Linked DNA regions of Homo sapiens: region 2 is linked to region 1. The links are contacts of gene promoters, found by promoter capture Hi-C in blood cells and fetal thymus (Javierre and others, 2016). All regions are on one chromosome and are shown on one strand. Each heading gives the region's core, a stretch centred on a gene start or on the middle of the fragment in contact. The rest is flanking DNA. Distances are from core to core; before and after follow the strand shown.

The links. The method cuts DNA at HindIII sites, captures the fragments that hold promoters and counts their contacts. A CHiCAGO score of 5 or more calls a contact.
Region 2: a fragment that was not itself captured here is called in contact with the fragment with the promoter of PALLD in region 1 in 1 of 17 cell types (activated CD4 T cells); the score reaches 5.1 in activated CD4 T cells.

Annotation. Positions count from the first base shown.
Region 1 is chr4:168,492,847-168,499,343 of GRCh38, reverse strand. PALLD (palladin, cytoskeletal associated protein) reads right to left here and starts at 2,292. Exons shown (of 22, transcript NM_001166108.2): 1 at 2,150-2,292. LOC107986198 (a long non-coding RNA gene) reads left to right here. Exons shown (of 4, transcript XR_001741448.3): 2 at 6,459-6,497. The HindIII fragment of the contact is 1,197 bases long and covers 1,901-3,097 here.
Region 2 is chr4:168,294,515-168,300,442 of GRCh38, reverse strand. The region is part of intron 6 of DDX60 (DExD/H-box helicase 60); the gene reads left to right. Among named protein-coding and RNA genes, the nearest start is that of DDX60, 21 kb to the left of the region's middle. The HindIII fragment of the contact is 1,213 bases long and covers 4,059-5,271 here.

The DNA of each region.
Region 1 (6,497 bases), core at 1,043-3,542:
GCCTCCCTTCCCCCTTCTTCCATGTCTCCCTCCCTTCCTCCCTCCCATCCTCCCTCCCATCCTCCCTCCCATCCTCCCTCCCTTCCTCCCTCCCTTCTCCCTTCCTTCTTCCCCGTCTCCCTTTCTTTCTTCCTTCCTTTTTTTTTTTTTTTTTTTTTTTTTTGCTACAAAGGGTCCTTTAGGGCAAAAGTCAAACACGAAAATTTTATGAAATTTTATGTTTGATGCAGAAAATGCACTACAATTTTATAATTTATTTCTTAATAAATACACATGGATTATTTTCCTTTCTAATTATTAAATTGTCAATGCAGGCAGATATATTTATCCTACAGTTTTAAATATCTCTTTAAACAGCTTATTTAATCTCAATTTCAAGGACATAATCTAATAGCTCATTTAATGCAGAAACAGCCAAATAAGATACTTTACAGAGTTTTTGAAGTTATCCCATGTCCTGTTCATCTTATCAACTTTATTCACCATACTGAGTCCATTGCAAATATTTAGATTTTACTTCTGAATTATCCATTTCCATTACCATTATCCAATTCAGGGCTTTATTCTTCTCACTTAAATTCAAAACCTATTTACCAAATTTGCTTCTATATTCTCTAATATGATTTAACAGTTAGAAATTTTAGTCGAAGATACTTTGTTCAATCTTTGTTTTCTTTGCTGTAATTTCACCGGGACACAGTCATTAACTCTAGATGGCCTGAATTTCTAACTGGAGCTCAGTAATTGCAATACCCTTTGACAGCCTCCACACACATATTGTTTAAGAAGTGGAGCTCTTGTCTGGGCCTTGCAGATTCCACTTGGTATCTCTTAAAGAACTTGTCATATTTATTTTTAAACCTGAATAATGATTGCCCTCTACATTTTTAAAAAATGAGGTAAGGAGGTCAAAGTGATTGTACTTGTCCAGTGCAATCCAGATCCTCATTCTATTGTGAAATATGCTATAAGGCCAGTTTTAATATTCAGCTCTAGCAATAACAGAGAAACCCAGAGGAAGAGCTGACACAGAACCCCTGGGATACAGACCCTAATCCATACCAGATTCTAGGATGCCAGAGGACTAATTTATATTCTAGGAATGTGTAATCATGTATTTACAGGGCAGTTAGTGGCCAGATAAACCTCATCGGCCTTTTCTGCTGTTAGCAATAACTTGTCAAAGAGACTTTGATTTTAAAAATCTGAAAAAAAAATCTGAATAATTGAGGTGAGTATTCAAGTTCTTTCTGTGAGAAAAAACATTGGAAGGCACATTTATCATGAAATGAGGATTTAATTTCTGCATATATGTGATTGAATAGATTTGTAATAGTTTTATATTGCCAAGAAATGGCTTTATATGTCACCACATTATTCATACTAGAAGGCAATTAGTATTTTTAGCAAATGTTAATAAGTAATATGAGCCTGAAATCATTTTATGTCAACCTCCTATATTGGATTCAAGACAATTTCATGTGCAACTTAAAACAACATGATAAAAATTATTCTGTGATGTTTAAACTTGACTGGACTCGAGATTGCACTGTGGTTTCCCTTAGTAAGCGTTATCTTATTAAAAATATGTATGTAAATTTTATGCATGAATATAATTTAAAATACCTGCTGTTACTATCCCAACTCATTTAATTATGTCCAGTGAGTTACTTTTAGAATCTTTTGAAAGTGTAATTAACAATTTATAATGTTACTGAAATCTAAGGTCTATCACTTTAAGCCATCATCACTTATCTAGCTTAAATATGGGTGAGGGTCTAGAAAGCTGCGTTTTCCTTTTCTGTGAAACATAACACATACACGATCTTGACAAAAGCTGGCTCCATAAATACATTTAATCCTTTTGGAATTGATAGCACCATCTTAGCATGCTTAAGCTTATAACAGAAAGTGTAATTCTCTGACAGCAAAGGCAGAGATGAAGTGGGCAGGCAAATCTTACGTATTATCTGTTTTTGGCAAAACCGTAACATTCTCATTACGTTTCCTCTCCAAGCAAAAGAATAATTAAGGTATCTTGTAAATAGTATCATATCTTCAGAAAAACTTTTGTATTTTTAGTTTTTTTTTTTTTAAGTCCTTAAAATGTTGCCCTACTAGTTAGTATATTAAGATACACCTTACAGACCTTTTCAATGCTTGGTCAGTTTGAAGACTCCAGAGAGGTGATGAATTTCAGATGAGCATTTCTTCTTTTCTGGGAGAATGGAGGTTGTGGCCTTGCCTATTCATTAGAGACTGCCTGGTCCGTGGTCACTTTGAGGCAACTGTGGCCTCAGACTCTCATCTGTCCTCTTACTCCACTCAGCTATATTTGGTAACTGAGCTCATGTTTCAGCAGACTGCCACGATCAGGAATTCCAGCAGCGGGCTGGGAAGCACCCCCAGGACCGAGGGCTGGGTTCTTAGAAATAAAGCCACTTAACATAGAAGGAACTATATTTATGGATCTGATAAACGTAGGATTTAAACACATTCTTCTATACTTTGGACTTGTAGCTGGAAATCACCACCTGGACCTTTAACATGTTCTTAATCAATTTAAAGTACAGTATGTGACTCCAAGTAGAAAAAGTGATAATCCAAATGGAAGCTCTTCTTACTCTGATCTTCTGTTCTGTGCATTTAAATTTTGGTCATGTGCTAGATTACCCTAAAATAGTAAATTCAGTAACTGAAAATTTAGCCACCTGTCAAATTGAGTGGAAAGTCCCATTGTTCTCTTATTTCATATTGCTAATTAAAAATTGATATATGACTATGGTATGTATTAAAGGCCTTGTCTATAATAGTATTAAATAAGTATGAACACACAGGGACTGGATCTTATCCACATTGCAACATTGAGTTCTTAGCTCAATGCCTAGGACATCATGAGCATCTCTTAAATATTTGTCAAAGAAATAAATGAATGTTGAATGAATAATATTCAGGAAAAGTATCAACCCTCTTACAGTTGCAAAAAATGTTTCACAATCATTTAATATTTTGATCTTTCAAATGACAAATAGATATAGCAAGAGTTTAATATTTTGATCTTTTAAATAACAAACATAGATAGCAAGAAGAGAAAGCTTTTCTGTTTAAAGGTCAGGTAGCAGAATCAAATATAAGGGGGGCAAAAAGAGCAACACAAAAGCTCCCAGTTAACTTGGAAATGGGGTGCTGAGTCTTCCTTTGTCTGGGTAAGACCATCACATTTGATTCAGTTTAATATCTAAATATTTTTTCTTTTCTGATGTTAGAAAATTTGTGAAGGTCTGCTATTGTATTTTCTTTATAGGCCAAACTGGTCCTTTAGAAATGGTCCTTTCTGTGAGTGGATACTTCTGTGGGTCATTTCATCTATTATATTAATTAAGAAGTGATTTTAAAATTTATACTTACGGCTGGGCGTGGTGGCTTATGCCTGTAATTGCAGTACTTTGGGAGGCCGAGGTGGGTGGATCATGAGGTCAGGAGATTGAGACCATCCTGGCTAACACAGTGAAACCCCCTCTCTACTAAAAATACAAAAAATTAGCTGGGCGTGGTGGCGGGTGCCTGTAGTCCCAGCCACTTGGGAGGCTGAGGCAGGAGAATGGTGTGAACCCGGGAGGCGGAGCTTGCAGTGAGCCGAGATCCCATCACTGCACTCCAGCCTGGGTGACAGAGCGAGACTCCTTCTTAAAAAAAATAAAAATAAAAATAAAAAAATAAAATTTATACTTACAAGGAAATATAACTCTGATTGATTGTCTTAGTTTGTGTCATTATAACAAAATGCCACAGACTGGGTAATTTACAAAGAACAGAAATTGATTTCTCATAGTTCTGGAGGCTGGGAAGTCTAAGATCAAGGTGCCAGCAGGTTTGTTGTCTGGTGAAGTTCCTGTCTCTGCTTCCACAGTGATGCCTTGAGCACTGTGTCCTCACATGGCAGAAGGTGGAAGGGCAAGAGGGGGTCAAACTTCCTCCATCAAGCCCTAAGGGCATCAAATCCCATTCATGAGGAGTCCTCCTGAATCACCTTCTAAACGTTACACCTCCTGATACTGTTGCATAGGGGATTAGGAATCAACAAAAATTTTGAAGGGGACAAAAACCTTCAAACCATAGCATTGCTTAAACACATATTTATATCTGCTTTTTCCTAAAACCACAAGATAATAGTAAAAACTGAAAAGGGCAGAAATTGGGAGGGAAGACAATAGAAGATATCAGAAATGAACAAAATTGTTGGAAAGAGATAAATATAAGTATGCATGTAACTAAATTACAAAGCTTAAATGCCTGCAGGAGGAGATACAGAAAAGAAGCAAGTGATTCACCCCATGGAGTCTCAGAAAGGCTTGGGAATAGGAAGCAGTGAACCCATCTTTAGAAATAATTTTAATTGGCAACTCTGATTTTTGCCTCTGCCTTCTGGTGAACTGTGAGTCTCATGGTGAATTCCAGAGGCAATCATGTTGGACTACTGGCCAGACGAGGCCTCTCCCACATTTCTTTGGATTGCTTGGTTCCTAAATCCTGGTATAACACCAGTGAAGTGATGAAGCCATAAGAAGAAAAAAGAAAAAAAAACAGCTTGTGGTCCTGAGAGAGGCTTCAAAGATGGATATGACTTTACTCAAAAGGACACAGAAATGTGACCTTTTTGTGTGTGTATTGCAAATAGTGCAGCAAACCAAGCTTGTTTTAAAAATCTTATAAGAAGTTCTTTTCCTTAGAAAATTGGCATCAAAAAAATTTAGAAAGTTTGATCAACACTCTTAAGTTAGTATAGCAAGGTCCAGTTGATATTAAGGATGAGATTAGTGTGTGGACAGTAATATCATTTCTCATGCACTTTCATATTTTCCACCAGAGCCCATTTCTGTGTGCACGAAGGTTGGGAAAGGGAGTCTGTGGCTCCTTCATGGGGCTCCAGTTCAGCTTTCAAATGATTACTTCTTCTTATAGAAATTCCTGCTCTTTTGAAGCACTTATATTTGCATCAACCATCCTCCATCCCACTTTTTAAAATTAAGACTTTGGATCTAGTTGGGCTCTTGGTTCTCTTCTTCACTCCACACCCTGCCATTATTCTGGGTGACTCAGCACCCATTTGTCTATTCTATATGTTGGCATATTGGTTTTGGACCTGCTTTTCTCTATGAATCTTCATCTCTGTTCCTCTTACAGATCACACAAACAGACCTCCTCCACCTCCAAAATCAGATATAACTTATCTACTGCTTCATAACAAATTACTGCAAAAATTAATGTCTTAAAACAATATATATTTGTTATTTCACACAGTTTCTATGTGTCAGGAATCCATTAGTCTTAGCTGGGTAATTCCAGATCAGGGTATCATGAGATAGTACTGAAGATGTTGCCCCAGCTTCTTTCAGGTGGAAGCATGGCTGGGGCTGGAAAATCTGCTTCCAAGGCAGCTCACTCACGTGCCTGGAAAGTTAGTCCTGTTATTGGCTGGAACCCTGTTGACTTCTCTGTGTCACTGCCTGAGTTTCCTAGCTTCATGGCAGCTGGATTGTGCCACAATGTCTTTTTTTTTAAAGTGGAGTTTTGCTCTTGTTGCTGGAGTGCAGTGGCATGACCTCAGCTCACTGCAACCTCCACCTCCTGGGTTCAAGTGATTCTCCTGCCTCAGCCTCCCAAGTAGCTGGGATTACAGGTGCCCACCACCACGCCCAGATATTTTTTTGTATTTTTAGTAGAGATGGGGTTTCACCATGTTGGCCAGGCTGGTCACAAACTCCTGACCTCAGGTGATCCACCCACCTCAGCCTCCCATAGTTTTGGGATTACAGGTGTGAGCCACCGCGCCCGGCCCCATTATATCTTTTATGATCCAGCCTTGGAGGTCATATTTCGTCTTTCCCGCAGTATCCTTTAGTTATACAAATTGGCAGTATCCACTGTGGGAGGAGACTGCATAGAGGCGTAAAAACCAGTTGGCAAGACAATGCATTGGTGGTCATCTTGGCAGTTGGCTACCACACCTCTATTCCCTTTAACCCATCAGTCCTATAGCCACATTGGGGCATGCTCTGTTTTCACAACTGCACGTTCAAACATGTTATTTGACTGTAAACTTTCTTCCTCTAGCTCTCTCATACACTGATTTTTCTTCTTCACCAGAATTTCCAGGCTGTAGATCACTCTGTTTTGAGATTATCTATCAGTCTGCCTCCCAGGTTCAGGTCAATCGAGGATACTGGTTTACAAACTTTGTTTTAGGAGATACAAACTCTTGGGCAGCCAATAGAAAAAGTAAAGGTATTCAAAGTTTCCTTGATGAAAGGGGTGTGCAAAGGAATGCAGCAGACTTGCTCATTCATCCCCCTTGGACGTTTTCTTTTTCTTACGATCCAGGAAGTTTGAAAATCCTAAGTTTCAAGAAACAAGTCTACTTACTCCCTTTTCACTTTTATTCCTCTCTTCATTCCCAGCGTCAACCACCAGGAAACAAGGATCACGGAGCATGTGAG
Region 2 (5,928 bases), core at 3,416-5,915, 200 kb after region 1:
TCAGCCTCCCAAGTAACTGGAACTACAGGTGCCCGCCACCATGCCCGGCTAATTTCTGTATTTTTAGTAGAGACAGGGTTTCACCATGTTGGCCAGGCTGGTCTTGAACTACTGAACTCGTGATCTGCCCACCTCGACCTCCCAAAGTGTTGGGATTACAGGTGTGAGCCACCGCACCCAGCCGTAGCTTCTATTTGCTTGAGTGTTTTTATCATGAATGCATGAATGTTTACTAAAATTATGGATATAATTACACAATTTTTCCTCCTCAGTTTTATTAGTATTGTATTAATGATTTTCCCTGTATTGAAGCAACTCTATATTACTGGAATAAATCCAACTTAGTCATAGTTTATTACTTCTTAATATGGTGTTGGATTCTGTTTACTAACATTTTGTTTAGAATTTTTGCATCAGTATGCATGAATGATATTTCTGTAATTTTGTTTCTTTGAATTGCCTTTATCTGGTTAGATGTCAGTGTGGTATGTTCTTCATAAAAAAGATTAGAATGTCTTCTCCTCTTTTTCAATATTGTGAAATAATGTGTAGATCATTGGGATTATCTAGTCTTTGAAGATTTGATAGAAATCTCCTGTGAAGCCATATAGTCCTGGTGCTTTTTTGTGAGGTAGTTTCTTAATTTTCTGTATTTCTTCCATGGCAATTGACTTCTTTGGGCTTGTTAACTCTAATGGGGTCAAATTTAGTAATTTATTCTTCTGTGAAAATTATCTATTTCACTTAAGTTTTCAAGTCTATTTGCATAGAACTTTGTGAAGTAGGCTTTTGTGATTTAATTTATCTTGTTTCATTAATTACTTTCCCTTTTAGTTTTTATTTTGTGTATTTGTGAATTCTCTTGGTTTTTTTTTATGATCAGGTTAGCTAGTGGTTTGTCTGTTTTTAAGTTATTTAAAACCAAGAATTTTGATTTATTAATGAGATCTGTTGATTTTTTAATTTATTTTGTGCTTTCTTTCATCTTACTTTTTTGGTTTTTATGTTGTTGTTTCTTTTAGATTTTTGGGGGGGCTGGGAACTTACTCATTTTTAAAATTCGTTTATTTTTATTGTTAAACATATTTAGTGAAATAAACTTTCCTCTGAATCACTGCTTTAAATATAGCCCATAGATTATGCTGTAAATTTTTTGTCATTAAAAAAATAAATTCTGTAATTTTAGTTTGTATTTCCTTTCACCCAAGTTTGACCGAATAGAAATGTTTTTAAGTTCCAGATTAAAGCACGTTTGTGATTTTTTTTTTTTTTTTTTTTTTTTTTTGAGACAGTCTCGCTCTGTCGCCAGGCCAGAGTGCAGTGGCACAATCTCGGTTCACTGCATCCTCCACCTCCTGGGTTCAAGCAATTCTCCTGCCTCAGCCTTCCGAGTAGCTGGGACTACAGGCTCATGCCACCAAGCCCAGCTAATTTTTGTATTTTTAGTAGAGACGGGATTTCACCAAGTTGGCCAGGATGGTTTCAATCTCTTGACCTCATGATCTGCCCTCCTTGGCCTCCCAACGTGCTGGGATTACAGGCATGAGCCACCGTGCCCGGCTACGTTCATGATTTTTAAAATTTCTTTTTTTTTTCCACTACCTTTATTGTATTATGAAGATGTTAACATATAGTTAATTTTTATGGATGTGCTGGGGACATTTAAGACAAATGAAGATTCCCTATCACCACAATGTAGTTTGATTCATAAGGTCTACTCTGTTGATTATGGTGGTTTGTCTTTTATCCCTTAACTTATTTTTTTGTCCAGCTGTCTCTCTTGTGTTTTAAAATTTGTTACTATAGGTGAGTTTCTCTATAGAGTTTCTTTTATCTTTTGTCATTTTTGTTTCACAAAGTTGGTTGCCATGCATATGTTGGATAATTTTTCATAAGGATTATCTTTTCATTATAGATTGTGGCTTTTAGAATAAAAGACTGCTTTTCTTTTTCACATGTAATGCTTTTGAGTTTGAATTCTACTTAGCCCAATATAAAGATACTAACTTCTGCTCTCTTTTAGTTTCCATTTACCTGATAGAATTATGTCCATTCCTTTATTTTTAGTATTTCTGAATCACTTTGTTTTAGTTGTGTGTCTTATATATGGAATGTGGTGCAAGTTGAAATTATTTTTTCTTTTATAGGTAAGTCTCACATTTACTGTTATGACTGATACGTTTGGTCTTGATTCTATAATATATTATAGGCATTTGTATTCTGGTGTGTTTGTTAAGTTTCTTTACGATATGTGTATTCTTTGTTATTTTATTTAAACAATTTTAAACTTTGGGCTGTTTTACATGTTTCGTTATGGTAATTACGTTTGTAATTACCATGCTGTACCATTTTTATAAAAAGAATAATCTCAATTCTCTGTTTCCTTATTTTACCTTTCACTATTTGGTTTCTGAAGTTTTAATTTTTCTCAGTATCCATTAGCACTCATTTATTGTGTATAGTGGGTTTTCTAGGATTATTATTTTAAAAATATTAATTTTATTATTAAATTATCATTATTACTATTATTTTATTATTTATTATTTTTCATTGAGACAGAGTCTTGTTCTATTGCCCAAGCTAGAGTGCAGTGACACGATCACAGCAACCTCCTTGCCTCCCTGATTCAAGCAATTCTTCCCCCTCAGCCTCCCAAGTAGCTGGAACTACAGGCCTGTGCCACCACACCTGGCTAATTTTTATTAGAAATGAGCTTTTGTCATGTTTTCTAGGCTGGTCTCGAACTCCTGGCCCCAGCCTCCCAAAGTGCTGGGATTATAGGCATGAGCCACCGCACCTGGCCCAGTTTTGTTTTTGATAAGATGTGCAATGATACAAATATTTTTCTGTCTTTCATTTCCACTATTATTTTTCTGACCTTTTTTGGTTTTTATTTTATGTCATTTGGTTGTTTTCCTACCTGTCTTCATTAAATTTTATTGAGATTATTCTCCTTTGGGCATCTTGTAACTTATTCTTTATTTCTGCATAGCTTTGCATTTTTCTATGATTATTTTGCGGAATTAATTATTTATTGTCTTTCTTTCTTTCTTTCTTTCTCTTTCTTTCTTTCTTTCTTTCTTTCTTTCTTTCTTTCTTTCTTTCTTTCTTTCTTTCTTTCTTTCTTTCTTTCTTTCTTTCTTTCGTCTCTCTCTCTCTTTCTTTCTTTCTTTTTCTTTCTTTCTTTCCAGCCCTGTTTTTGGTTTATCAGTTGCTGAATAAAGATCATTTTTTGGCTGGGCGTGGTGGCTTATGCCTGTAATCCCAGCACTTTGGGAGGCCAAGGTAGGTGAATCACAAGGTCAAGAGATTGAGACCATTCTCACCATCATGGTGAAACCCCGTCTCTACTAAAAATACAAGAATTAGCCGGGCATGGTGGTGCATGCCTGTAGTCCCAGCTACTCGGGAGGCTGAGGCAGGAGAATCGCGTGAACCTGGAGATGGCAGTTGCAGTGAGCTGAGATTGCCGAACCCAGGAGGTGGAGGTTCCTGTGGGCCCAGATCATGCCACTGTACTGCAGCCTGGTGACAGAGTGAGACTCCGCCTCAAAAAAAAAAAAAAAAAGATCACTTTTTGTATGTTCGAATGCTTGTTTGAGTATATCCATATTTAGAATGTAGACTTAGAGATTTCTTCTGCTTTATAATTGCTGATATTATTACTACTTTTGGAGATAATGATGAGATTTTTCACACAATTTGTGTGAATTTTTTTTCCTGCTATTATTTTTTGTAATAGCTCTCTATGTACTTTCTTTTCATTTTAATGATACCGAGGTTTGTTACAAGATACTTTAATTCGATTTAATCCAATCCAATTAATTTAATATAATTTAATTTAATGTTATCTTTTTCTGCCAGCTTGTCAGAATCCAGGCATGTTAGTGGGGTTTTTGTTAGTTTGTTTATTTATTTGTTTGGTAGTGGGTGAGTGGTTTTGGGTCTTCAAATTACCTGCTTTTCTTCTGACTTGCAGAGCCCTCAAATTCTTCTTTGTCTTCTTTTACTCTTTCGCCACTTAATTGCCAAAGGATACTTCTTCCTTTTTTAAAGCTTCCTTTTCTTTCCCAAACCTGTTTTCAGAAAATTGTCCCCTTAGGTAGTTCCTTTTAAATAGTTTCTATTCTTTTTAAAAATTTTAAATTAAAAAAATATTTTTGATTGACACATCATAACTATATATTTATGAAGTACAACGTTTTGTTTTGATATATGTATACAACGTGACATGATTACATGGAGCTAATTAACATATCCATCACCTTGCTTACCTATCATTTTTTATTGTGAGACATTTGAAATTTATGCACTTATTTTGAAATATATGACATTATTATTGGTTGTAGTCATCCTGCTGTATAATAGATCTCAAAACCCATTCCTCTTTTTTATCTGAAAGTTTGTACCCTTGGGTCAGCAAGTCTCCGTTTCTCCCCTCACCCTCTGAAGAGAAGAGTTTCTCTTCTCTATTTCTATGAGTTCAACTTCGTTAGATTCTACATATAAGTGAGATCATTTGGTATTTGTCTCTTTGTCTTGGCTTATTTCACCTAGCATAATATCCTCCAGATTCATTCATGTTGTTGAAAATGACAGGATTTCCCCCCGTTTTAAATGCTCAATAGTATTCCATTGTGTATATATACCTCATTTTCACTGTCCGTTCATCTGTTGATAAACACTTAGGTTGATCCACGTCTTGATTGTTGTGAACAATGTGTCAATGAACATGGGAGTGCAGATATACCTTCGAAATACTGTTAAAAGAAAAACTTCAGCTGAATTAAATTTAAAGGAGTTTAATTGAGCAATGAACGATTCACATATCAGGCAGCCTCCAGAATCACAGCAGATTCAGAGAGACTCCAGGGGTGCCTCATGGTCTGAACAAACTTATAGACAAAAAATGTAAAGTGACATACAGGAATCGGAAGTGAGGTACAGAATAGCTGGATTGGGTACAACTCTGCATTTGCCTTATTTGAACACAGTTTGAACGCTCAGCAGTGTATGAGTGATTGAAGTAAGGGATTGGCCAAGACAGCGACTGTTACAAGAACATACTCCTAAACTAGGTTTTCAATCTTGTCTACCTATTAAGTTACATTGCAATTCATCCAGAAGGATTCAAATATAGAAGTACGAAGTCCTTCTCCAGCCATATTTAGTTTGCTTTAACCATACTAATTTCGGTTCCTTTGGATACATACCCAGACATGGGATTACTGGGTCCTATGATAGTTCTAATTGTAGTTTTTTGAGGAAGCTTCATATCGTTTTACATAATGCCTGTACTGATTTACATTCCTACCAACAATGTATTAGAGTTCTCTTTTCTCTGCTTCCTCTCTGACACTTGTTATCTTTCATCTTTTTGATAAAAGCCCTTCTGACAGATGTGAGGTGATATCTCATTGTAGTTTTAATTTGCATTTGCCTAATTATTGGTATAATTATTAACGCTGAGCATATCTTTCATGTACCTATTGGCCGTTGGGTTTTTTGTTTGTTTGTGTGTTTTTAGTAATGACTGTCCAGGTCGTTTGTCTATTTTTAAATGGGATTATTTGTTTTCTTACTATTGAGTTTGAGTTGTTTCTATACTTTAGATCTTAACTCCTTATTAAATGTATAGTTTGGCTGGGCGCGGTGGCTCATACCTGTAATCCCAGCACTTTGGGAGGCCTAGGTGGGTGGATCATTTGAGGTGATTAGTTTGAGACCAGCCTGGCCAACATGGTGAAATCCCATCTCTACTAAAAATACAAAAATTAGCCTGGCAGTAGTGGCACATGCCTGTAATCCTAGCTACTTGGGAGGCTGAGGCAAGAGAATCGCTTGAGCCTGGGAGGCAGAGATTGCAATGAGCTGAGATTGGGCCACTGCACTCCAGTCTGGGTGATAGAGTGAGACCCTGTCTCTAAA